Linked DNA regions of Homo sapiens: regions 2, 3, 4, 5 and 6 are each linked to region 1. The links are contacts of gene promoters, found by promoter capture Hi-C in blood cells and fetal thymus (Javierre and others, 2016). All regions are on one chromosome and are shown on one strand. Each heading gives the region's core, a stretch centred on a gene start or on the middle of the fragment in contact. The rest is flanking DNA. Distances are from core to core; before and after follow the strand shown. Region 1 holds the start of GAS1 (growth arrest specific 1). Region 2 overlaps LOC102724080 (a long non-coding RNA gene). Region 3 has its middle 170 kb from the start of LINC02872. Region 4 has its middle 96 kb from the start of LINC02834. Region 5 has its middle 79 kb from the start of LINC02834. Region 6 has its middle 54 kb from the start of LINC02834.

Region 1 (4,207 bases), core at 856-3,355:
CAGGACTACTGTTCTGTCCCCCACATGCTTGCTTCCTCCCGGACGTCCTGAACACTGCAGCTAGCTTTCTGGACGGCAGACGAGTTGGGAGTTTCTGGAGCTTGGAATTGGGGCGGGGGAGGAGGTCCAAGAAGTCAAGCTCCGGAGAGGAGCTTCAGGGGAAGTGCCCAGAGTCGTGGCCGGGGAACCGGCTACACCAAGTTGACTTGGAAAAAGTTTTGGGAAGTATCCCCAACCATCCCTTCTATCTGTCCCAAGCCACAGGTGCCCGGCGCGGGGTCGAGGCGAGCACGGGAGTGGGACGCGGGCTCTCCCGCAGCCAACGGCGGGGGGCGCGAGGGCTAAAAGAGCGGCCCAAGCAGCAGCAGCAAGATGGAGGCGAGTGGGGTCCAGGCGCCCCGGGGCGCCAAGCGGCCGCCGCCGCCGCTGCTCCTGCGCCCAGGCCCATAGGGCAGGTCCCCGCGGCCGCCCGATGCAGCAGCGCCGCTGCCCGGGCGCGGTGGGTGCGGGACGCCGTCGTCGTCGTCCAGCGGCTGCTCACCACCCGCGCCCCCGGTGCGCTGCTCGTCATCGTAGTCCTCATCGTAGTAGTCGTCCAGGCCCCCGTCCGAGCCGCTGCTGCCGGGGCCGTTGCCCAGCTCGGCGCCGAAGCACAGGCGGGCCATGTTCTCCTTGACCGACTCGCAGATGGGCCGCTCGAGGCCGTCGCACACGCAGTCGTTGAGCAGCGCCGCCTTGGGCATAGCCAGCATGTCCTCAATGACGGTGCGGCATTCGTCCGTGCAGCGCAGCCCGTTGAAGACTTTGCCGCAGTAGGTCAGGTAGCGGCTCAGCGCCAGGTTGCAGCGGCTGTCGCGGTCGCAGCGCCGCCGGGCCTCGGTGCAGCCCATGACCCCGCCCGCGCCGGGGCCGCCCGCGCCGCCGCCGCTCGTCCGGGGCAGGCACGGCTCAATGGCGCGCTTGGTGGACTTGCAGTTCTCGTCCTGCGCGCAGTCACAGTCCTCCAGGGCGGGCCCGCGGCGCGTGTGGTTGAGCTGAATGAGGGCCGAGATGCAGTGACTCGGGCAGCGCCAGCGCGACGAGAAAGAGGCGGCCGAGGCCGGGAAAGCGGCGGCGGCGGCCCCGGGCGCGTCGCCCCCGCCGTGCTGCGCCAGCACCGGCGCGCACGCCTCGGCGTACTGGTTGTAGGCGTAGCTGCACTCCGGCTCCCCCTGGCACTGCAGCAGCGCCTGCCAGCAGATGAGGCGGCGGCCGTGCGCCAGCCCCGATCCCCGCGGCGCCGAGCCCAGCAGCTGCAGCAGCGCCATCAGGCACAGCCAGGCGCCCGGCACTGTCCCCCCGCGGGCCTCGCCGCCGCCGCCCAGCAGCGCGGCCACCATCGCGGGCAGCGGCGGCCGCCGGGAGAGGAGGGGAAAGGAGACGAGGCGCGGGGAGCGGCGGACGCGGAGCCGGTGGAAAAGTTTGTCCAAGTCCTGCCCACTTCTTGCATGAGTGTCTTCATAAATCCATGCGCGCCGCTGGCTGATGCCCCGCTGGTGGCAGAAGGTCCCCTTTCGCTCTGGCTGCGGTGGCTTCCTGGAAATGAACAGCTGTCGAGATCTGGTCCCGCTCTCCCACCCGAGAGCCCTCCGCTCGGCCCCCGGTGGTGGCGGGAGAGGCTCACTGTCGCCCCGGGGGGGTGCGGGCCGCGGGGCCGTGGCGGGGCTGCAGGACCGCGCGGCGCGGCGGGTGCATTTTGCTCCGCGCCTGCAGATCCGTTGTGCGGCCGGCTGTCCCCGTGCCGGCTGCTCGCGCTGCGGCCGCGGCGGCTCCTTCCTCCTGGGCTCAGTGCCTCGCCGCCGCCACCGCCGCCGCGGTCTCTCGCATCGCGCCGCTTCCTGGCCCGGCGTCCGCGCGCTGCCCGCCTTCCCGCGGCCCGGCCGCCCCGCGTCCCCTCCCCCTCCGCCCGCGGCAACCCCGGCCTCCGCAGAGCTCCGGGGAGCTCTTTCCGGGAAGCGCGGGGAGAACAAGAAAGTCGGCGCTGCCGGAGAGCGGCTCCCTGGCTTCACTCGGCGGCAGCTTCTCGGGTGACCAAGAGCCCGGGGAGCGGATCCGCTGAGCCCGGCTGCAGACTCGTTAGCAGCGAGGCTTTAAATACAAAAGTGGGCCGGGAGCCCCCGCGTGGTGCCGCGGTGCCCCCTCATTATGCATGCATGGAAAAGCAAACAAACAAAAACATTAGCAACGCTCCTCCGGCTCGCCGAGCCCCGGCCCCGCGCGCTCCGAGCCTGCCCGCTTTCTCCTTTCTCCACTCTCTTTCGCCCTTTGCTCGGCCCCCTTTCCCGGCTTTTCGAGATGCTATTGGTCCTGCCTGTTGTTGTTGAAAGTTTTTTTTTTTTTTTTTACGAGCCGCTGGAGTGGGGTTGCGGAGTGGGGGAGGGCGGGAGGGTGGTGGGCAGCTCACATTCAGGCATTCAGGGCTTGAAAGGAACGGCTTAGGGAGCCTGACGGAGGCCCGGAGCTCCTCCTACTCTTAAGGAGGCTCGGATATGCAGCCCCAGCTCGCGCACAGAACCAGCGGGCAGGGCTTAGGGGCAGCTGTTTGCATCCGGCTCAGCCACGGGCCTTTTTTGTTTGTTTTTTTTTTCTTTTTTTTTTTTTTTGTAGTTTTATTAATTCTCGCTGGCCCCCATCTGTGCTTTCGACTGGATTCAGAACTCAGTTTATCTTCCAGGCTCCCTGTCTTTGGGTCTTGATCACCACAGAGGGGAAGGGGAGAATCCAGAGATAAAATGTGAGACTGAAACTGTTTTAAAGAAGCATACAAGAAAGAAGCACACACTTTATTAGGGAGATGTTGATGAGATGCTTACAACCCGCCCGCCACCCCCCAGCCCCAGCTAGGCCATCTGGCAGGTACCGCCCGTGCGCCAGGCATCGTTTTCAAATTGCAAGACCGAAATCCAATCAACCGAAATAATTTCTTAGGAAGATAAGCTTGCAACACGTGCAATAATGAAAAAATTTAACTAGCATTAAAAATATTCAGGAATGTCGAGCAATTACCACCTGGCCGCAGTCACAGGACAGAAGACGGAATAAATGGGCACGCACCAAAGGTTTATATTAAAGTGTAAGTTTCAGCCCCTCAGTATATTTAAGGGAGGCTGCTCTGCAGAGGAAACCTCTGCCTTCTCGGCGAGGGAGTTTCCGAGCTACCTTAACTGGGGCGCAACGCAGCCTTCCGCCACCAGAGGCAGCGGGCGTCTGCGGCCTGTCAAAAACTGGCGCTTTTTTCCTCCCCTTTCCGTGGAGAGACTATCAACTCCATCTGTCACAAAAATTAAGGCTAAATCTCCTCTCCAGAAGCAGAGGGAGCCGGGGCTCCGACGCGCTCAGCGTCGGGCTGTCTGCCTCTCCCTAGAGGCCAAGTGAATTTGAAATGGCAAAAGTCACAGCCGGAGGCCCAGCACTAGGAGATTCCTCCGGCTGCGGGAAATCTTCCTGTACCTGCTGAAGCTGCTGCGTTCCTCAGAGGCGCTTGGTCTGCCGTGGGAAGCTGCACCTCTGCAGTCCCCAAAACCAAAATCAAACCTTAAAAGAGCCAGACTGAGGTAAGGCGGACCGTCTTGCTCTGATTTGAGTATTGGTAGACAAACAGCAATATAAATCGATACTAAAAAAATCCAGAAAGGCTGCAACTTCATGGCACATCAAAACAACCATATCCCTGGCTCTCTGTCTCTTTTTTTTTCTCTATTATTTGGAGTTGTCCTCTCAGTCCGGCCTGGAGGACTTGGACAACTCAGACACCTTCTCTGTGTCTGGGATCCCTCCACAGGTAAGGTTCGAAGCCAATTAGACAATTGAAAAATCCCCTCTTGTCTTTAAAGCTTTGTTATTTTAGGCCCATAAGGAACAAAGTCAGCACTCGGTTTCATCTTTACTTGAATTTTTGTTGAGTTCCTTTAGAATAGTGGGACCCAAACCTTAGCACGTATCCTAAAACTCAGATCCCTAGTTTTTGGAGTTTCTGATTTAGTTGGACTGGTGGGTCCCAAGAATATGCATTTCTAACAAGTTCTCAGGGAATGCTGCTCTCAAACTTTGAGAATCACTGCTCTCAAAGTTAACATGTTTCTTTTCTGTGTTGTTGCTGTGTTTTTGGTAACACTTGCCCCACCTTGGCCTTGATACAGCTCTCAGTGGGGTTTAAGGGAGGCCCAAG
Region 2 (4,207 bases), core at 1,152-3,651, 460 kb before region 1:
GTTTTCAACTAAACAATTGGGTGTGGTGTATCCAGATACTGCCAGCATGTTATTTCAAAAGATGGTCATTAACCCCTTATTCCCAGTCCCTCTCTGCTGAGTTATGGAAATCAAACTCCACCCACTCCCACATTGTTCCCAATGTATTTCTGAAAGCCTCTCAGGTTGCTGTCACCATGTGACACTTTGTGTGTGTATGGCTACCTCTAAAATTTTTGCTTAGAACAGTAACTGGCTCATGGTAAGCACTATGTGACATTAGCTATCATCATCAGCAACCTTAACACGTGGTTGGATCAAGTTCCTCATATTCCTTGTTACAGCCTCCTTGGCATGTGCTCCATGTCTCTCCCATGGCACTTTTGCTAATGGGCAGTGGGCCTTGCTCTAGCTGATGTTATCACCATCCCCTGAGCTGGAGGCGCAGGCACCGCAGTCCTGCTTACCATTGCATCTCAAGTGGGGCGTTTTCTGTTCCCTATACTTCATCCCCAAAAAATGAAAGCCAGGCCACAACTTTTGATAGGTCCTTATTAAGACCCAGGAGTCAATGAAGAGACAAACAACAGAGAAATGGTTTGTGTAGCTCTTAGTAGTGGTTCTGCTCCAACCCCAGGGACCCAGATTCTCCTTAGGGTCTTTTATGGCTGCCTACCCCTTGGGAATATCTGAGCAAGACTAAGACAGAGCAATATGTTTCCCTCGGTCAAGAAAGCAAGAAAGCCCCTGAGCCACAACTCCGACTCAAGTCTATGTAACAATTTACATTTCCAAGTCAAGGCTTTGCCTCCTGTTCTAAAAGAACCAATTTTTCCCAAGTCCAGGCTGCATTTTCTGTTCTAAAAGAGCCAAATTTTATCGGTGGGGTCTTCCACACACTCCGATAAGAATCTTTGTGAGTATCCTCGATTTACATTAGTGACCAAAGGACACATTTTGGTGTTCCTAAAGCAAAGCAAAATGTTTGCCTGGAAGGCGAATTCAATCTTCCTTTGAGAAGACAGAAAATTGCTTTTATTTTTATTTTATTTATTTATTTGTCTGTTTTTGAGAAGGAGTTTCACTCTGTCACCCAGGCTGGACTGCAGTAGTGCAATCTTGGCTCACTGCAACCTCTGCATCCCAGTTCAAGCGATTCTCCTGCCTCAGCCTCCCGAGTAGCTGGGATCACAGGCCCTCTAATTTTTTGTATCTTTTAGTAGAGACGGGGTTTCACCATGTTGGCCAGGCTGGTCTCGAGTTCCTGGTCTCAAGTGATCAGCCAGCCTCAGCCTCCCAAAGTGCTGGGATTACAGGCAAGAGCCACTGCACCTGGCCAGAAAACAGCTTTTAAATGTAAGATTTTCTTGGCACTATCTAATACCTTCTCTTCATGTCCACTACAAGCTTTAGGCATTCATTTCTCAAGCATAAGGACCATGTTAATACTTTATATACTTCAAAGAGATGATCATACTGTCTCCTTAATGCAGGTATACCTCAGGATTGACCTTGTCATGCTGCAGTGACAAACATCTCCAAAATGTTAGTGGCCTAAACCATAAAGATTTGTTTGTTACTTACATCACATGTCCAGCACAGACTGTGCTCGTGGCATTCTCTCACAGGTCCAGGTGGGCCGAGCCACCATGAATTTCAGGCCACTGCCCCAAAGGGAATAAAGAACTCTAAGTCTTGCAACAATCAAATGTCCTGTCCTGGAAGTGACACATGTCATTTCTGCTCTCTACTCATCAACCAAAACTAGTCACATGGCCCCACTCAGCCGCACGGGCACCAGGAAGTGCAATTTCCCTCAGAGCACGGGAGAGATGACATATTTGGTGAACAGCACCAAGGACCACAACATTCTGAGTAAATATTTAGTGACTAACTTTACTTTCTCTCCTCAGAGAAATCTCATGGATCTTCTTTACTTCCAGTTGGATTCTCTTTTATTTCTCTTCTTAAGGACTTAGACATTAAAAAACAAAACAAAACAAAAAAACAAGTAGGATCAATCACTTAGTACCAAGAATGCATTTTATTTTTCAGTCTACTCTTCTCTTTGTCTTTATTTTCCTCGCATTGCTTCTCTCACTCCTGGGCTTCTGACCCTTTCTGTCTCTCTAGCTTTGACAATACTCTGAAAACTTGAGCCTGGGGACTTACATGGCTCTTGGAGAACTTGGCTCAGCTCCCTTTCTGGGTCCTGCCTTGTGTCAGACCTTTTCTCTCCCAAATATTCATGCTTCAGTATTCCAGATTCCCAAGCATTCCCGAGAGAGCCTCAGTCATCTGTCCCTCCTCTCCTGAACTTTCAGCCCCAGAACCTTTTGGCATATAAAGAGAATCGTGTGGCAAAAATTACAACCCTAGTTAGAGTTAATTCCTTCTTTTGGTGAAAAAAAAAAAGATTTCATGAAGGAAGAAGTTTTGCTGCAAGATGGTTTTAGTTACTTCCTATATTTTATCTGTTTAGCTTTAAGGTCCTTGCTGTCCAGTATTATAACTATTGTGATGGTTCAGGCTAAAGCTGCAGTAGTACGTGTTATTACTCAGGTATTATGAAGAAGAGCTGTACAAAAGTAGCTTCTTCCAAGCGAAAAAGTTGTGCATTTTTAAAATTAAAAAGATGCAGTTTTTATAATTAAACCTTTAAAACATTTAGGTGTAGGCCGGGTGTAGTGGCTCATGCCTGTAATCCCGGCACTTTGGGAGGCCAAGATGGGTGAATTGCTTGAGTGCGGGACTTCGAGACTAGTCTGGGCAAGAAGATGAAACCATATCTCTACAAAATACAAAATAATTAGCTGGGTGTGGTGGTGTGTGCCTGTAGTCCCAGCTACTCAGGAGGCTGAGATGGCAGGATCACTTGTGCCCAGGAGGTTGAGGCTGCAGTGAGCTGTGATGCTGCCACTGCACTGCAGCCTGGATGACGGATTGAGACCCAGTCTCAAACCAACAACAACAAAAACTTTGGTGTATATTTAACATACTTAAACTTTCTCATAATGAGATAATTCACTCTGAGGTAAAACAGATATGTTTATCCCAACATGGGTACAGTCTTGTTTTTAAGTCAGTCCTTTTTTTAGAGCCATCTCTAGACATATACACAGCTATAGAAATGTCTTTGCAACAGAAAAATGCAATGGAAAATAAACCAGACCATGCACAGCATTAAAAGCAAATGATGTGATATATTGTAGGGCAGGCAGTTTTACACACTTCTGTTAGGTCAGGCTGATTTTCTAGTCTAAGATAAAAATCCAAACATGCTAAGCCAATGTATGTGGATTTCTATACAAAACATATGTGAATAATATTATCTTTTGCAGAGATTATGGGTAGGCCTTTTCTTGTAAATATAATCATCTGGGATTATGGTTCAATTCCTGGCACTGTCAGTGAGGTTTAGGAGTTTTCCAAGGACTGAAAGCTTTTGATTTTTCTATGCTATAGCTCCATTTTGACAGAGAATGACAGTGTATGAAGAAAACTGAGTCTTCCCCCTCACCTCCCACCAGGTGCAAGAGGCTCCTGTAACAAGATCAGCCTAGAAGTTCCTTCCCAGAGAAAGCAAAATGATCAAAAAAGGAGAAGTTGGGAACAAAATTTGACTAGACTAGGCCCTTTAAGTTTATTTCCATTCCACAAGGTGGCAGTAAATACATTCCTAAGGCTATCTGCTTGGGAGAAGAATGAAATGGCAAAGTATTATTTAGTCTCTGTGCTGGGAGAACTGATGCTGCTGAAACCAGAGTAAACACATTTAAGGATCAATCGAGCATCATTCATGAGAATTTCCTTCTCCAAACCCCTTCCTTAACTCTCAGGAAGGAAATGACAATGGGACCTTGAACTGGAGACCCCAGAACCTGCTTTTTCTCTACTACAATCTTGAGGTTTTATTAAAATTAGATAATAAGCAAGCCATCCTGTTAGCTGTCAAGGCTGAAAATACAATCAACTGAAAGATAAGTTGGACAAAAAGAAATTCAGAAACAGTGTCCTTACAGCAAATGGCCATAGAATGGCCCAGTGACAATAATATTAGTTTACTTAGATGTTTACCTTTAAAGATAAATTCATTGATAATTTGGAGACAGCATATTAGAGTAGTTAGATTAGAACATCTTCAAATGTCAATCTTTTGGTTTCTGTATGCTATGATTTGAATGTCTCCTCCAAAATTCATGTTGAAATGTAATCTCCAATGTGGTAG
Region 3 (4,207 bases), core at 1,015-3,514, 370 kb after region 1:
TACAGCAGCAATCAATCCACCATCGGTGTTTGTCCAGAGACTGGATCCCAGCAAGCAAGACCAAAGGGATCTTCCTGGGAGTCAGAAAGTACTTAGGAAGTGTTAACTGCAAAGTCTGTGTCCACGTCACTTTGGAAAACTCCTGTATTCACAGGCTCCAGGTCACAGCTACTTTATATCGTAAAAGTGACCCAAGCCAGCCCTCCTCAGTGACCACTTAATGACCTGAGACACTGCTCTGGGAGTGCACAGAACCACCACATTTCTCCTCAATGCTCTGCTAGGGCCGAGGGGCTACCGTGCTTACACAGAGCAGTAAGCACTCTAGCAAACCTGCACTAAAACCAGAAAGCAAACAGGCCAGGCACAAAGGCCACCATCTCCTAGGGGTCAGGCCTCTTAAGTAAAAGAGAATCGGATTGGCTTTTCCTTTAAGTTGTGGACTCTGACACTGAAGTGACCATTATCCCCAGTCCACTCAGACACTTGGAAGAAAATGTATTATTAAAAGCAATCGATGCATTATGAAAATGAACTGGGTAAACTGTAATTTTATTGGCTCTGAGTTCAAGCCATAAAAGGGTAAATGTGAACAGGTGTGCCAGTTAATGTCCTTGGGTAATTGGTTAAGTATGGTAACCCCCAGAATCTACTTCTACTCAGCTCATACAACTTAAGCTGCAGAAAGTAGAAAGTGCAAAATATACCCACTTTTTAAAACTCTTTATTAAAAATTTTTAAAAAGCTTATTATATGGTCCCCACCTGGGCCATGATTAAGCACTCATTATTGCAGTAACAATGGCCCCATTGTTATTTCATCCTAATAACCATATTTAAATTACACAAAGTTTTGAGAGCTATAGCCTTAATGAAACTGAGGCCCAGGAAGGTTGATTGGTTTTCCTAAGATTGAGAGGAACAGAGCCAGAGGCTGACCCAGAGCTCCAAATTCTCAATCCAATAATTGTTCTAATACATGTAACAGAGAGTCGTTCACTACTGTGCCAGCTTAGACAGTCTCGAGCATATTCTATTGACCAACACAAAGAATATATGCAAGGAGTCTCACCATCCTTATTGGTCAGCGTTCTCCAGAGAGGCAGAACCAACAGGATATGCATACAGAGAAAGAGAAAGATTCATTTTAAGAAATAGGCTTGCACAACTATGGAGGCTTGGTGAGTTAAAAATTTGATGGTGGTGGCCGCTAGGCTAGAGATGCAGGGAAGTTGCAGTTTGAGTCTGAAGGCAGTCTGCTGGCAGAATCCGTTATTGCTCAACAAGATGGAATGGGGGTGGTCAGTCTTTGCTCTGTTAAGGTCTTCAATTGACTAGATGAGACCCACCCACATTATAAAGGGAAATCTGCTTTACCCAAAATCCACCAATTTAAGCATTAATGTCATCCAAAAAACACCTTCACAGAAACATCCAGAATAATGTTTGACCAAATATCCAAGTACAGTGGCCCAGCCAAGTTAAAACATAAAATGAACTACCACACTTTCCCACCAGACGTACAAGTCTTCACCCCCTCCACTTGTTTGCACTTATGAATATCCCAAGAAGAGCAGGAGAGGGTTGTCTATATGGGGTGACCAGGGAGAATGTAGGCAATGTCTATGGCATCACTACAGCTAGGTGACCAACAGGTAAGATGAAGGATGCTAATGAAGATCTCACTAAGATCCACCGAGCTGGAATCAAGAGAAGGGGCTAGGTCTGCGCAGATGAAGCCTCCCTTTCTCTGAAGCTCCTGGGCATGCAAATGATGCATGGTTTTTCTGAATTTTGTTTGTTTGTTTGTTTGTTTAGCTATCAATTGCTGTGAAACAAACTACCCAAAACTTAGTGGCTGGTCTCTCCCAACAACCATTTTATCATTGCTCATGATTCTGCGACCAGGATTTCAGACAGCACACAGAGGGTGGCTTGTCTGTGTCCCATGCAATGTCTGCCGAGGCTAGAATGTCCAAGATGACTTCTTCACTCATACATCTGGTCCCTCAATTAGATCGGCTCAAGTAGCTGAAGGCTGACAGAGACACTTTATGGGAGTCAGAAGTCTGTAGCCTCAATTCTCACAGTTGGCTGGGTTCTTCAGTCTCCACGCAATCTATGGGCTTCTCTCTCTCCACAAAGTTCGATCCTTCCAAGATACACAATCAGAAATGGCCAAACCTTCTTAAAGCTGAAGTCCACACCTGGCACTGGGTCCCCTCTACCAGCATTCTAACAGACCTGGATCAGATCAAGAGGAAGAGACAGCACAAGGGTGTGAATGCCAGGAGGCATGGCTCATTGAGAGTCACAGAAGTGACAAGCTACTTTGTCATTCATACCTGTCTTTGGCTACATCCAAACACCCACCCAAGTCTTCTGTGTTAGGCTGTTCTTACATTGCTAGAAAGAAATACCTAAACCTGGGTAATTTATAAAGAAAAGAGGTTTAATTGGCTCATAGTACTGTAGGCTATACAGGCATGATGCCGGCATCTGCTCAGCTTCTGGGGAGGCCTCAGGGAGTTTTAGTCATGGCGGAAGGTGAAATGGGAGCAGGCACTTCACATGGTGAAAGCTGGAGCAAGAGCAGGAGGGAAGAGGTGTCACACTTTTTTAAACAACGAGATTTGAGAGAACTTACTCACTATCTCGAGGATGGATAATACCAAACCATGAGGGATCTGCCCCCATGACCCAAACAGCTCCCACCAGGCCCCACCTTCAACAATGGGGATTACAATTCAACATGAGATTTGGTGGGGACACAGATCAAAACCATATTATCTTCCCAGAATAAGAACTCTCTTATTCCTCAAGCAACTTCTTTTGGATAAGTCCCAGGTCCTATGCATCCCCTCTGCAGTTTCCCTCCTTGGCTTCCCCCATTCACTGACCTCATTTTGTCTTGAAGATCCTTTCTTACTTCCAAAGGCATTTGCACCTCACACTCATTTTTCTTCCAGTACTCTCACACTGGAGTTGATAGCCCATTAGACCCAAAAATCTTCCCCAAAGTGAAACTAGTTTCCCTTTCCTTGAGTTGAGAAGATTTAATATCCAAATTTTCCAGAAGGTTTGGAAGGAGATATTGCATTTCATTTTTCTAGTATAAAAACAAAGGGGAATAAAACAAATGAATTGCTTTTCATTTTGAGAGACAGGCTGGTAGAGTGGTTAAGAGAGTTGACCCCAGAGCCAGCCTGGCGTTTAGTAGCTCAGTGTCTTCATCTATAAAGTGGGGAGTATCCACCCTATAGCACTGTCGTGAGGATTAAATTAATAAAAATATATAAAGCAGGATGAAAAACAGTAGTAAGTGTCTGCTATGATAATAAAAACAGTTGTATCCTGTAACTTGGAGGTCCCCAACCTTTTTGGCACCAGGAACTGGTTTTGTGGAAGACAATTTTTCCATGGACAAGGGTGGAGGGATGGTTTGGGGATGATTCAAGCACATTGCATGTATTGTGCACTTTATGTCTATTATTATATATTGTAATATATAATGAAATAATTATACAACTCACCATAATGTAGAACCAGTGGGAGCCCTGAGCTTGTTTTCCTGCAACTAGATGGTCCCATCTGGGGGTGATGGGAGACAGTGACAGATCATCAGGCATTAGATTCTTATAAGGAGCATGCAACCTAGATCCCTCACGTGTGCAGTTCACAATAGGGTTCATGATCCCATAAGAATCTAATGCCACTGCTGATCTGACAGGAGGTAAAGCTCAAGTGGTAATATGAGTGATGGGGAGTGACTGTACATACAGATGAAGCTTCACTTGCTTGCCCACCATGTGCCTCCCACTGCCTGGCCCAGTTCCTAACAGTCCATGGACTGGGGGCTGGGGACCCCTGCTGTAAACACATCACACATCTTCCTCAAGTTCCCAGTGTGATAGGAGGGGAACCCAAGTTGTTATGATTTTAAAGATATCCATGTTAATCACTTTTCTTGGAAAAGGAAGCTCCATTAAGATGTGAAAAATGTGAACTTGTTTCACAGGTGAAGTAAAAAAAGATGCAAAAAAATGCTAGGCTCTTTGTCCTCAGAAAAGAATATGGATCAATATCAGGCTTCCTCCAATATGTCCAAGTAGTGGGTTCCCAAAGGAAATATATTTGGGGACATTTTCTACCAAAAAATGGTATATCAAGTGATATGGTTTGTCTGTGTCCCCACCCAAATCTCATCT
Region 4 (4,207 bases), core at 788-3,287, 340 kb before region 1:
TTAAAGTCTGTTTCATCAGAGACTAGGATTGCAACCCCTGCCTTTTTTTGTTTTCCATTTGCTTGGTAGATCTTCCTCCATCCTTTTATTTTGAGCCTATGTGTGTCTCTGTACGTGAGATGGGTTTCCTGAATACAGCACACTGATGGGTCTTGACTCTTTATCCAATTTGCCAGTCTGTGTCTTTTAATTGGAGCATTTAGTCCATTTACATTTAAAGTTAATATTGTTATGTGTGAATTTGATTCTGTCATTATGATGCTAGCTGGTTATTTTGCTCGTTAGTTGATGCAGTTTCTTCCTAGTCTTGATGGTCTTTACATTTTGGCATGATTTTGCAGCAGCTGGTACCGGTTGTTCCTTTCCATGTTTAGCGCTTCCTTCAGGAGCTCTTTTAGGGAAGGCCTGGTGGTGACAAAATCTCTCAGCATTTGCTTGTCTGTAAAGTACTTTATTTCTCCTTTGCTTATGAAGCTTAGTTTGGCTGGATACGAAATTCTGGGTTGAAAATTCTTTTCTTTAAGAATGTTGAATATTGGCCCCCACTCTCTTCTGGCTTGTAGGGTTTCTGGTGAGAGATCCGCTGTTAGTCTGATGGGCTTCCCTTTGTGGGTAACCTGACCTTTCTCTCTGGCTGCCCTTAACATTTTTTCCTTCATTTCAACTTTGGTGAATCTGACAATTATGTGTCTTGGAGTTGCTCTTCTTGAGGAGTATCTTTGTGGCGTTCTCTGTATTTCCTGAATCTGAACGTTGGCCTGCCTTGCTAGATTGGGGAAGTTCTCCTGGATAATAACCTGCAGAGTGTTTTCCAACTTGGTTCCATTCTCCCCATCACTTTCAGGTACACCAATCAGACGTAGATTTGGTCTTTTCACGTAGTCCCATATTTCTTGGAGGCTTTGCTCATTTCTTTTTATTCTTTTTTTTCTAAACTTCCCTTCTCGCTTCATTTCTTTCATTTCATCTTCCATCGCTGATACCCTTTCTTCCAGTTGATCGTATCGGCTCCTGAGGCTTCTGCATTCTTCACGTAGTTCTTGAGCCTTGGTTTTCAGCTCCATCAGCTCCTTTAAGCACTTCTCTGTATTGGTTATTCTAGTTATACATTCTTCTAAATTTTTTTCAAAGTTTTCAACTTCTTTGCCTTTGGTTTGAATGTCCTCCCATAGCTCAGAGTAATTTGATCGTCTGAAGCCTTCTTCTCTCAGCTCGTCAAAGTCATTCTCCATCCAGGTTTGTTCCATTGCTAGTGAGGAACTGCGTTCCTTTGGAGGAGGAGAGGTGCTCTGCTTTTTAGAGTTTCCAGTTTTTCTGTTCTGTTTTTTCCCCATCTTTGTGGTTTTATCTACTTTTGGTCTTTGATGATGGTGATGTACAGATGAGTTTTTGGTGTGGATGTCCTTTCTGTTTGTTAGTTTTCATTCTAACAGACAGGACCCTCAGCTGCAGGTCTGATGGAATACCCTGCCGTGTGAGGTGTTAGTGTGCCCCTGCTGGGGGGTGCCTCCCAGTTAGGCTCCTCGGGGGTTAGGGGTCAGGGACCCTCTTGAGGAGGCAGTCTGCCCATTCTCAGATCTCCAGCTGCGTGCTGGGAGGACCAATGCTCTCTTCAAAGCTGTCAGACAGGAACATTTAAGTCTGCAAAGGTTACTGCTGTCTTTTTGTTTGTCTGTGCCCTGCCCCCAGAGGTGGAGCCTACAGAGGCAGGCAGGCCTCCTTGAGCTGTGGTGGGCTCCACCCAGTTCGAGCTTCCCGGCTGCTTTGTTTACCTAAGCAAGCCTGGGCAATGGCGGGTGCCCCTCCCCCAGCCTCGCTGCCGCCTTGCAGTTTGATCTCAGACTGCTGTGCTAGCAATCAGCGAGACTCCATGGGCGTAGGACCCTCTGAGCCACGTGCGGGATATAATCTCGTTGTGCGCCGTTTTTTAAGCCCGTCGGAAAAGTGCAGTATTCGGGTGGGAGTGACCCAATTTTCCAGGTGCCGTCCGTCACCCCTTTCTTTGACTCGGAAAGGGAACTCCCTGACCCCTTGCGCTTCCCGAGTGAGGCAATGCCTTGCCCTGCTTCCGCTCGCGCACGGTGTGCGCGCCCACTGACCTGCGCCCACTGTCTGGCACTCCCTAGTGAGATGAACCCGGTACCTCGGATGGAAATGCAGAAATCACCGTCTTCTGCGTCGCTCACGCTGGGAGCTGTAGACCGGAGCTGTTCCTATTCGGCCATCTTGGCTCTAGTTTTTTGTATTTTTAGTAGAGACAGTGTTTCACCGTGTTAGCCAGGGTGGTCTTGATCTCTTGACCTCGTGATCCGCCCACCTCGGCCTCCAGAAGTGCTGAGATTACAGGCATGAGCCACCACGTCCAGCCTAGAAAATGGGTTTCTATTATTTGAGGACATCAATTAGTTGAGTTGTGTGCAGTGTGGTGGTGGAGACAGTGGAGACAGTTGAGCAGCATGTGTGCAAGCACAGACACATCAAAGAGAGAGGTATGTTGGGGGGAGCGTGGGTTCTCATCTGACCCCACCTGTGTATAGGCCCCAACTCTAGCCTGATTTCCTGATTTTGTACAAAGATGACAAGCTCATTCCCAACTTCAGATCTTTGCTATTTGCTCTTCTATGTCTACCTACCAGCTCCTTTGCCCTGCCTTTCTCACGCAGCAACACTTTCCATCCCTTACACGTCCATTTATTCTCTAGCTTTCATGGGTCATTTCAAACCTTACCCCCATGCCAGTGCATGCTGGGTAAGTCTGAATTGTAGACCTGAGTGCTTCTGTTTGTATCATCCTACACTTTTTTTTTAAAGTATAGTATTTAGTATCTTAAGTCTTGCAAAAGCTAAGTTTGCTATGGCTTTACTTCTGGATATGCTATAATTTCTACCACAAAGAGTTGGTGCTCAATAAATATTTCTTACTCGATCAGTAGTCATAATGAAAACAATGTAAACAAAGGTATGAGCACCAAGGGTGTAAAAATGTTTTGAGAGTTGTGGGGGAAGCAGAGCAATAGGTGATTTAGTGGTCATTGCCAATCCCAAGTGTTTTCACTGAAAATATGAACTCAGCCATTTAAAAGTGGCTAATAGGTTTGTTTTTGTTCTCACCTAGGTTTCTGTGACTGGCAGATACAGCATGAAATGTGAGTTCTCTGCAAACCGTAGCTAATATTGGAAATGTGTATTGTGGCTTGAAGTTAGGTATCCTACCTGAGCTCACGTATCTTTTCTCTTGCTTCCAGCACAAGAAGGTGAGATTCCACACAGCATGATAATTACCTATTTACCTGCCAAGGCCACCCTCTTGGTGGCTCATTTCTCTAAGGAGAACCTGGGCTCATCACATTCACCACTGTTTCCCTGGGCAAGGCCTCCAGAGCCAGATAGTACATTATCCCTGAAATGAAATTTGAATCAAACACTTCCAGAACAAAAAAAGTTTTTAATTGTCTGTGAACTGTTTTGACATTTTTGTTGCCAGGTAGGTAGGTATGGAAAGTAGTTTTTAAAATAGACATCAGGATCTGTGACCTTTTGCCAGCACGGTCTGATGTCTGAGCTCATGTTTAGTTTAAAGGGCTACCCCTCCAATAAAGATAAGCTTATTAACACATTATTCTCTTTATTTGGCTTTTTAAACCATGATTCTCCTTTGAGACCCAAATTATTCAAACACAGTAAAATGTAAGAAGTGGCAGTGGTCCAGTAGACATAGATTTTGCAGCAATTCAAATCACAGAATTCCAAATACAAAAAACTCACATTTAGGATTAGAATATTGCTGTAGTTTTGTTTTCAAGGTAAATACAGCGTGTGTGTTTGTGTGTGTGTGTATGTGTGTGTGCATACACCATGAGGTCCTGAATCAAATTTGTTCTGTCAATTGTGTTATCAAAAAGAAAAATTACAGGCTAAGCATTCCTAGAGCAAATATGTTTTACTAATATCATATATTTACAATTTATACTCAAACTGCTTCCCAAAGATATTTGAAGCAATTTATATTAATAACTATATATAAAAAAATTCTGTTGTAGCAATGACTCTGTACCAATCAGAAAAATTACAAGCTATACATTCCTAAAGCAAATATGTTTTACTAATATTATCATATATTTATAATTTATACTTAAACTGCTTCCCAAAGATATTCAAGCAACTTATATTAATAACTACATATAAAAAATTCTGCCGTAGCAATGAC
Region 5 (4,207 bases), core at 975-3,474, 320 kb before region 1:
TTCCCATATGAATGACATTCTAAGCTGGGTCCAGAAGGACAAAATGGATCTGGAAGGAAAGATGTTGCTGGCCTCTCAGAATGTCTCTGTTTAGTGGGTCTCAATTTATCATTCCAGTTTATCAGACTGAGAGGCACCTGACAGGTATTGGGACATTCCCAAGCCTTGGGATCCAACTCCTGTGTTACAGGCAACTCCAGGTTAAGCTGTGCTCAGGTCTGCATTTTATTCCCAATCCTGTCATTTATGGCCTGACTTCCTCGTTGTTTAACCTCTTTAGCCCCAGTTTCCAAATCTGAAAAACTGGGTAAGATACAGATAGTTGTCTCACATAATAGGAAAGATTAAACTATATGATAAATGGAAAGCTGCTTGCACACTCTGGTTTCATGCTCAATAAAATCTTGATTCTCCATACCCCCTTAAACTTTGCCTGGAGTACAGCACATTTTATTCTGGTCACTTAAAGAACTCCTTCATACATAAAAATATGGCTGGGGGTGGTGGCTCACACCTATAATTGCAGCACTTTGGGAGGCTGAGGCAGATGAATCACAAGGTCAGGAGTTCGAGACCAGACTGACCAACATGGTGACCAACCCCGTGTCTACTAAAAATACAAAAAATTAGCTGGGCATGGTGGTGGGCACCTGTAATCCCAGCTACTTGGGAGGCTGAGGCAGGAGAAGCACTTGAACCTGGGAGGCAGAAGTTGCCGTGAGCCAAGATCACATCATTGCACTCCACTCCAGCCTAGGTGACAGAGCAAGACTCTGTCTCAAAAAATAAATAAATAAATATATATATATATATATATATATATATATATATATATATATATATATGATAGTGAGTTTGTTTAAAAATGATCTCTAAACTGTCATTGATGGGTTATGTTGAAAGTATTTGTGGATTAAAAAAATTTAGAGTGTTATCTCCCACAAGTATGAAATATGGCATTAACTATCCAAAAAATTACAAAAAATTAAATATTTCTTCTCTAGGTGAAACCAGCTCCTCCCCTCCTCCTTATTTATTACATTCTGCTTCTAAGCAGTACTTTTATTTGAAAAATGCATGCAAGTTACTGCAGAGCCTTTTATAAATCTCGTGCATGCACGCTTGTGCACACGTGTACACTCGGCAATTGAGCTAGAATGATTTACTGGAAAATTGATGTGTGATCTGTTCTGTCACTTGCCTTCCCCAGTTGGAAAAAAAATGACAGGTTCTCTCTCCATCTCACCCAATCTCTCTATCTCTCTTTCCCCAGCTTTAGAGATTTTACAGAACCCATAATCAATGCTGCTGTTTGAGAGCCTCCTCTTTTTGTATTTTATGAAATGTAAAGCCCATTGAAGACATTTCCTGAGGTGTCCTTGAGGGAATGGGAAGGGGGACGAGTGCATTGGAGAGCTGAACAGTGACAGCAGCAGCAAGGTGCAGTTTCTAAATCAGAGGTGTGGTCAGAGGCCAGCAGTTTCTCAAGTGATGGGACTTGTGCCTATAAAGTGAAATGTCTCAGCAAGACCTCAGGAGGCAAAAGGCTTTCTGGTGCTGTTGGGAAGGCAGGACTTTAGCATGAGGATTTCTCTTTGTAAATGGTCTCTGTTACCCCTTGAAAAAGAAAAGCCTGTTCACCCACAGGGAGACCTTGGGGCTTGTGACAGTGAGAAGAATAGGGTCTGGTAGCAGATTCTGTTTGCCAGAGGTGGACTCCACAATATCTTCCATCCTACATGCCCTTCTTTGATGTGGCCCTGCCACACTCTATAGAGGGGTGAGGTCTAGTTTCTCTCCCCTTGCATCTGGGCTGGCCTAGAGATTGGCTTGTAACCTGAAGTCGTGCAGCTTCTGCTTTTGTATTAGTCCATTTTCATACTGCTATAAAGAACTGCCCGAGACTCGGTAATTTATAAAGAAAATAGATTTAATTGACTTACAGTTCAGCATGGCTAGGGAGGCCTCAGGAAACTTACAATCATGCAAAGGGGAAGCAAGGCACCTTCTTCACAAGGCAGCAGGAAGAAGTGCCTGGTGAAGGGGGAAGAGCCTCTTATAAATCCATCAGATCTCATGAGAACTCACTCACTATCAAGAGAACAGTATGGGGGAAAAAGCCCCCATGATTCAATTACCTCCACGTGGTCTTTCCCTTGACACATGGGGATTATGGGGAATATGGGGATTATAATTCAAGATGAGATTTGGGTAGGGACACAGAGCCTAACTATGTCAGTTTTGGTCTTTGGCAAGTAAGTTCTCTGGGCACTCCTTCCAGGGGTGCTCCATTCCAGGACCCAGCTGGCTGCTATGCTGTAAGAAACCCAAGCTCGGTGGACAGGCCGTGTGTAAGCACTCCAGTCGACAGCATTGGCCAGGCTCAGTTTTGCAGCCATCCTGAACAGCTTCCAGATGATTCCAGCCTCTCGCTCTTCTTCTTCCCATCTGAGTCCCCAGACATTGTGGAACAGAGACAAGCATGCACAGGGTTCCCCAACTGAATTCCTAACCACAGCATTCATGATTGTACTGAAATGGTTGTTGTCTTATGCCACTAATTTTTTTTTAAATGAGCTTTATCAAGGTATTTTAAGACATGTCCATCAACCCAAAAATTTCATTGTGCTTTTTGTCATTAGTTTCCTCTCCTAATCCCAATCCCAGACAACTTCAGATCTGCTTTCTGACTCTGCAGTTCCTTCTTTTCTAGAAATTCCATACAAATGGACTCATATGAGTCTTTTTTTTTTTTTTTTGACACAAAGTCTCACTCTGTTGTCCAGGCTGGAGTGCAGTAATGCGATCTTGGCTCACTGCAACCTCCGCCTCCTGGGTTCAAGAGATTCTCGTGCCTCAGCCTCCTAAGTAGCTAGAATTACAGGCGCCCACCACCAGGCCTGGCTAAGTTTTGTATTTTTAGTAGAGATGAGGTTTCAGTATGTTGGCCAGGTTGGTCTCAAACTCCTGACCTCAGGTGATCCACCTGCCTCAGCCTCCCAAAGCGCTGGGATTACAGGCGTGAGCCATTGTGCCCGGCCTATATGAGTCTTTTATTTGAAGTTGCAGTGAGCTATGATTGCACCACTGATCCCCAGCCTGGGTGAAACAATGGGACCCTGTCTCCCAAAATAATAATAATGATAATAATAATAATATGAGTCTTTTCTGTTTTATGCCACTGCACTTTTGGGATATTTTGTTATGTAGCAATGAATGGCTGGAAGAACTTCCCTTTCCATTGTCTAGACATTGCATGAGTTTTATGAACAATTGTGCCCTTAAGGAGGGAAGGGTGCCTGATAATGGCTAAGACTGAATTCTCTCTTTAGGCTAATTTAAGTGGATTTAAAAGAAGTGGACATGTGCTGTTTCCTCTTTATCTGAGTTGGTAGACTAAGATTCATTTATGGTCTTTACCATGATGAAGTCAAGGGATAGGCCTATTTTTAGAGTAGTGTTTAAGGGTTCTACACATTTTCATGAAACACGAAGAGCTACTGAATATGACCAGCTGACCAGCTCTGCTCCCCATCAGCTGCCTGTAACTGGGAAATGCAGCAGATCTTATCCATCCTTCCTTCTGGTGCCACAACATAGACCTGCTGCCTCATTCCTCTATTCCAGGGCTGTAGAAGGCGACGAAGGTCACATTATCAAGTGGGAAACTATTGTGCCTCTGTTGTTTCAGGGAATTTTAGACTTTTAGAATCCCTTACAGGTTTGGGAGCTTTATATTTTTATTCTTTGCCAACCCAAATATCAAGAAGCCTGAGAGGAAGAATTGACTAGGCAAATGAACTGCCGTGGAGCTGTTTCTTATTTATAGGAAAGTAGTTATAAAAATCAAGGAAAGAGCCTGGTGCCCTTGCTTATGCCTGGAATCCCAGCACTTTGGGAAGCTGAGGCAGGAGGATCGCTTGAGCCCAGGAGTTGGAGACCAACCTGGGCAACATAGGGAGACCCCATCTCTACAAAAAATTTAAAAATATAGCCAGGTGTGGTGGTGCATGCCTGTGGTTCCAGCTACTCAGGAGGCTGAGGTGGGAGAATCCCTTAAGCCCAGGAGGTCGAGGCTGTGAGGCATATGGCACCCCTATACTCCAGGCTGGGAGACAGAGTGAAACCCCATCAAAAACAAAACCAAACAAAACAAAAGGCAAGGAGACAAAATCTATGGGGAAAGGAGTGGGTGAAAATTGAAGCA
Region 6 (4,207 bases), core at 615-3,114, 290 kb before region 1:
GTAGTAATTTTGGGGTCATTGGACCATTGCCATGGAAAGGGGTGGTAACTCCCGGGTGTTGCCATGGCAATGATAAATTGCCATGGCACACTGGTGGGCACGTCTGATTGGAAAGCTGCTTCTGCCCCAGCCCTGTTTTAGCTAGTCCTCAATCTGGTCCGGTGTCTGAACCCTGCCTCTGGAGTCAAGTCCCGCCTCCTACCTCAGTTCCATGAGAGTTTTGGATGGTGGGTGCTCTAGTTTTTTCTCTCTCGAGTTTTGTCTCTCTTTCTTTCTCTAACAGTGACTTATACCATCATTAGATTTCTCTAGTCAATTTTCCCGGCAATGTAACAGCACTTTCATATGTGAGGCACTGAGAAAATACTGAAAAGACAGGCAAAGGCATAACTTGGCCCTCAGGGGAATCATAAACTAACCCAGACAGATGCTTGCTTGCCCAAAATGATCCTGTTCAGATAAAATAAGATGCAATTTGAAATCTAGCCCCTAATTCAAGTTAAAAAACAACCTCCATGGTTTTATTTATAGCTTATTTCTTGATTCCAGCACCTTTCCTGTCCAAGTAAGAACCAGTCCTCCCTCATGTGTGAAGGCACAACAACTGAGTCTGACTCACTGCCTAGCTCTATATGATGTAAACACAATAAAAGTATATTAAGCCAACTTTGATTCAATAATACAAGCAAATTTTCTTTTATTGTGGTAAAATATACATAACATAAAATTTACCATTTTAATCATTTTTAAGTGTACAGTTTTGTGACATTAGTATACTCTCATTGTTGTGCAACCATCACCACTATCCATCTCCAGCAGTCTGTAATTATCCTTGCTGAAACTCTATACCCATTAAACATTAACTCCTCATGTCTGTCTCCCCCACCCTCCTGGTTTAAACTTTATTTTGATGGTAAGGGTTAAAGAACATGTAGCCCTTGGAAGGCGTATGAAGCACATGCTCCAACTCTTTCTTTCTTTTTTTCAATAGTCCTTTATATCGGACCCAACACTGTGTGTATTAGTTAGGTTTCCATACCTATTTTACAGATAGGAAACCAAGGCCTAGTAAGCTAATGTCACCCCCTTTAACTGAACACAATTCTTGCTTGGCCTTTCCTTCTTGCCTAGGTGAATTATCTGCCCACCAAGAGTCAGATGACATTTTATGGCCTCCGTTGCTGGCTCATGCACTGCCCTGGGGTTTCTGAAATTCCAGCAGTGTGCAGGTGACTTGTAGATGATTGTATTTGTATTAGTCCGTTTTCACACTGCTATAAAGATACTACCTGAAACTGGGTAATTTATAAGCAAAAGAGGGTTAATTAGCTCACAGTTCTGCATGGCTGAGGAGGCCTCAGGAAACTTACAATCATGGTGGAAGGAGAAGGGGAAGCAGGTCCCTTCTTCACAAGACAGCAGGAGAGAGAGAGCTCGGGGAAACTGCCACTTTTAAACCATCAGATCTCATGAGAACTCCCTCACTATCATGAGAACAGCATGGAGGAAACCAACCCCATGATCAATCACTTCTCACCAGTTCCCTCCCTGGAGGTCTGTCCCTCCCAATTTGAGATGAGATTTGGGTGGGGACACAGAGCCAAACCATATCAGTATTGATGGTTCTGCTGTCATTGATTCTGTTTTCCAGTTACATCAGCAAGGAACCTGGGGCTCCACCTACAGGTGTTTAACTATGAGAGAATGAGATCTCTGGTTTTAAAGGGGTTCTTAGCCTAGATTCCAGGCTTGACTCTACCTCTCAACCACGGTTCAACTTTGAGCAGATTACATGGTCTCTCTAAATCTCAGCTTCCTCACTGTAAAGGAGCTTCAGTTTCTCCATGGTGCAACAGGGATAGTAACATGTTTGATGTTCCCACTTAGATATCTGATAGGCATCTCAAACTCAACAGAATGAAATTGAATTTTGATTTTTTTCCTCCTGAATTGGTTTCTTCTGCAGTCCTCTTTAGATTAATTAATGGATCTGACAGATGACATGACAGAAACCCAGAAGGAGACCTCCATTCCTTTTTTTTTCTTGATCATCAGAAAGTCCTATTTATTATGCCTGAGTTACAGTTTTGTTACGTACATCAATTTCTCTTCAATTTCACAGCCATTACCCTGGTTCAGCTCCAAAAAGGACTATGAAAATAGCCTCTCAACAGGTCTACCTGGTGCTTCTCTATCATCTTTAACAATACAAATGAGGATAAAAATAAGAATGTTTTTACAGTGCTTGGTCTGCCAGCCACTGTTCTAAGTGTATTACATATATTAATTTATTTAATCCATGTACCAGTCTTAGGCAAATCCCCTACTTAAAATTAATCCATGGCTTCTCATTGTTTTAAGAATAAAATTCAAGCTCTCTGTCTTGCTCTGCAAGATTCTGAATGATCTCACTTCTCCCTCCAATCTCTCCTCCCCAGTCTTCACCTTCACTCTTCAGAGGCTGACTACACTGCCTTCCTTTTTATTTCTCAAATATGTTCTCAAGTCTTTGCAGTTCCTGTTTTTTTCTGTTTTGTCTCCCAACTCTTTGCATGGCTAGGTTATTCCCATGCTTGAAGTCTTAGCTCATAAAATACCTCCTTGGAGAGGCCTTCCCAATCTTGTTTATCCTGTTTATGGGCCAAGAATTCTTGATCACATCATCCAGGTTATGATATGATGTGAACAATGCCTATCCCAGTTTGTATTGATCTTGTTTGTTTATTTGTGTATTTTTTTATTACCCCATTAGGCTGAAAGCTCTATGAGGGCAGAGACTTCATCTGTTTTGTTCCCTGTTCTTTTCAGCACCAAGGAGAATGCCTGGGTCCCAAGGGACTCAGTGGCTGTGGCTAGAATGAATCAGTGAAAGAATAAATCACACATGACAGAGGGCCTTTGACCTCATAAGGGTATTGGAGGATTAAAATGCATGGGATAGCCTATTGGTTGTACTTTATGAATCAGTCACCAGCTCAGATGTTTGAAAAGAATAATTATTTTCTTTTCTGTTATTTATCATTTCCTATAGCAGTTTTAAGTCGAAAGTTTCTTTTTCTTAGACAAGCAGACATGATAACCATAGTCTTCCTCTTTCAGACCCCTCCCAGATGTGTGCCAACTCAGGAATACCTTGTAATGCCAAAATTACATGAGGCAGGGCGATCAAGTTACTGCCAAGAACCAAGAGCCATGTCTACACAGCTCTGGGTGTAGCTCTTTTTTTTCTTTTCTTTTTCTTTTTTTGAGACAGGGTCTCACTCTGTCGCCCAGGCTGGAGTGCAGTGGCACAATCGTGGCTCACTGCAGCCTTGACCTCCAGGGCTGAAGTGATCCTCCCACCTCAGCCTCCTGAATAGCTGGGACTACAAGTGTGTGCCATCATGCCTGGCTAATTTTTAAATTTTTTGTAGAGACGAAGTCTCATTATGTTGCCCAGGCTGGTCTCGAACTCCTGAGCTCAAGCAATCCTCTTGTCTTGGCCTCCCAAAGTGCTGAGATTTGAGTGTAGCTCCTTAAAGAATTCAGGACCCACTCAGGTAGGGGACCTTCGGAGACTCCTGGCATCTGCTCTGTCTGGATGGACATGCAGCCGCTTCTCTGGGATCCTGCCCCTTCCTCTGTGGCATTGCCAGGAGAGGCCCACTGGTCTTACTCTTCCCACCCCTCCGCTAGGCTAGGGAACACTTAGGGGAGGGGGGAGCAAAGGAGGAGTCCTGCTGAACCCCTTACGCCTGGCAAAGACCTCATTCCTGCTCTTCAATCCCCTAGGGTCTTGCGGCTTAGATTCCTGGGAGATGATGGTCGGGGAGATTTTCAGGCTGCCTCCATTTATCCTCCCTTGAGTCAGTGATTACAGAAAGGAAAGGAAAAACACAAGAGGAAAACCATATAATGATACATCATAAAAAATATCTAGCCAACACTCACAGAGCACCAGTTACAGTGACCACCTAATAGATATTAATTCCTACTTTTGTCACATTCCTCCCTCCCTTAAAGGTCTCACAAATGATCTGTGGAGTGAAACCCCATTGGGTCATTAAGGCTGACCAGGATGAAACAACCACTTCTCTTACCAACTTATCTGTTTCCACAGGACTCACACTGTGGGGTAGCATGTAAAGTTCTTTCTCCCATTAGAAATTGTCCAAACAGGCATCCAGGTGACTTATCCAAACTCCACTTTTGTATGGAGTTTGGATAA

The links. The method cuts DNA at HindIII sites, captures the fragments that hold promoters and counts their contacts. A CHiCAGO score of 5 or more calls a contact.
Region 2: a fragment that was not itself captured here is called in contact with the fragment with the promoter of GAS1 in region 1 in 5 of 17 cell types (M0 macrophages, megakaryocytes, M1 macrophages and 2 more); the score reaches 9.9 in M0 macrophages.
Region 3: a contact is called between a fragment that was not itself captured here and the fragment with the promoter of GAS1 in region 1, in 1 of 17 cell types (M2 macrophages). The highest score is 5.9, in M2 macrophages.
Region 4: a contact is called between a fragment that was not itself captured here and the fragment with the promoter of GAS1 in region 1, in 1 of 17 cell types (M1 macrophages). The highest score is 5.1, in M1 macrophages.
Region 5: a fragment that was not itself captured here is called in contact with the fragment with the promoter of GAS1 in region 1 in 2 of 17 cell types (M0 macrophages and M2 macrophages); the score reaches 7.5 in M0 macrophages.
Region 6: a fragment that was not itself captured here is called in contact with the fragment with the promoter of GAS1 in region 1 in 1 of 17 cell types (M2 macrophages); the score reaches 5.7 in M2 macrophages.

The regions. Positions count from the first base shown.
Region 1 is chr9:86,945,401-86,949,607 of GRCh38, forward strand. It overlaps GAS1 (growth arrest specific 1), which reads right to left and starts at 2,106. Exons shown (of 1, transcript NM_002048.3): 1 at 1-2,106. The coding sequence starts at 1,379. The coding sequence ends at 342. It overlaps GAS1RR (GAS1 adjacent regulatory RNA), which reads left to right and starts at 3,298. Exons shown (of 7, transcript NR_049794.1): 1 at 3,298-3,593. RefSeq lists silencers at 1,097-1,166, 1,237-1,316. The HindIII fragment of the contact is 4,442 bases long and covers 1-2,974 here.
Region 2 is chr9:86,483,803-86,488,009 of GRCh38, forward strand. The region is part of intron 1 of LOC102724080 (a long non-coding RNA gene); the gene reads left to right. Among named protein-coding and RNA genes, the nearest start is that of TUT7, 130 kb to the left of the region's middle. The HindIII fragment of the contact is 2,035 bases long and covers 1,385-3,419 here.
Region 3 is chr9:87,316,931-87,321,137 of GRCh38, forward strand. No RefSeq gene overlaps it. Among named protein-coding and RNA genes, the nearest start is that of LINC02872, 170 kb to the left of the region's middle. The HindIII fragment of the contact is 3,042 bases long and covers 744-3,785 here.
Region 4 is chr9:86,609,823-86,614,029 of GRCh38, forward strand. No RefSeq gene overlaps it. Among named protein-coding and RNA genes, the nearest start is that of LINC02834, 96 kb to the right of the region's middle. The HindIII fragment of the contact is 3,130 bases long and covers 473-3,602 here.
Region 5 is chr9:86,627,573-86,631,779 of GRCh38, forward strand. No RefSeq gene overlaps it. Among named protein-coding and RNA genes, the nearest start is that of LINC02834, 79 kb to the right of the region's middle. The HindIII fragment of the contact is 7,252 bases long and covers 1-4,207 here.
Region 6 is chr9:86,652,504-86,656,710 of GRCh38, forward strand. No RefSeq gene overlaps it. Among named protein-coding and RNA genes, the nearest start is that of LINC02834, 54 kb to the right of the region's middle. The HindIII fragment of the contact is 4,916 bases long and covers 1-4,207 here.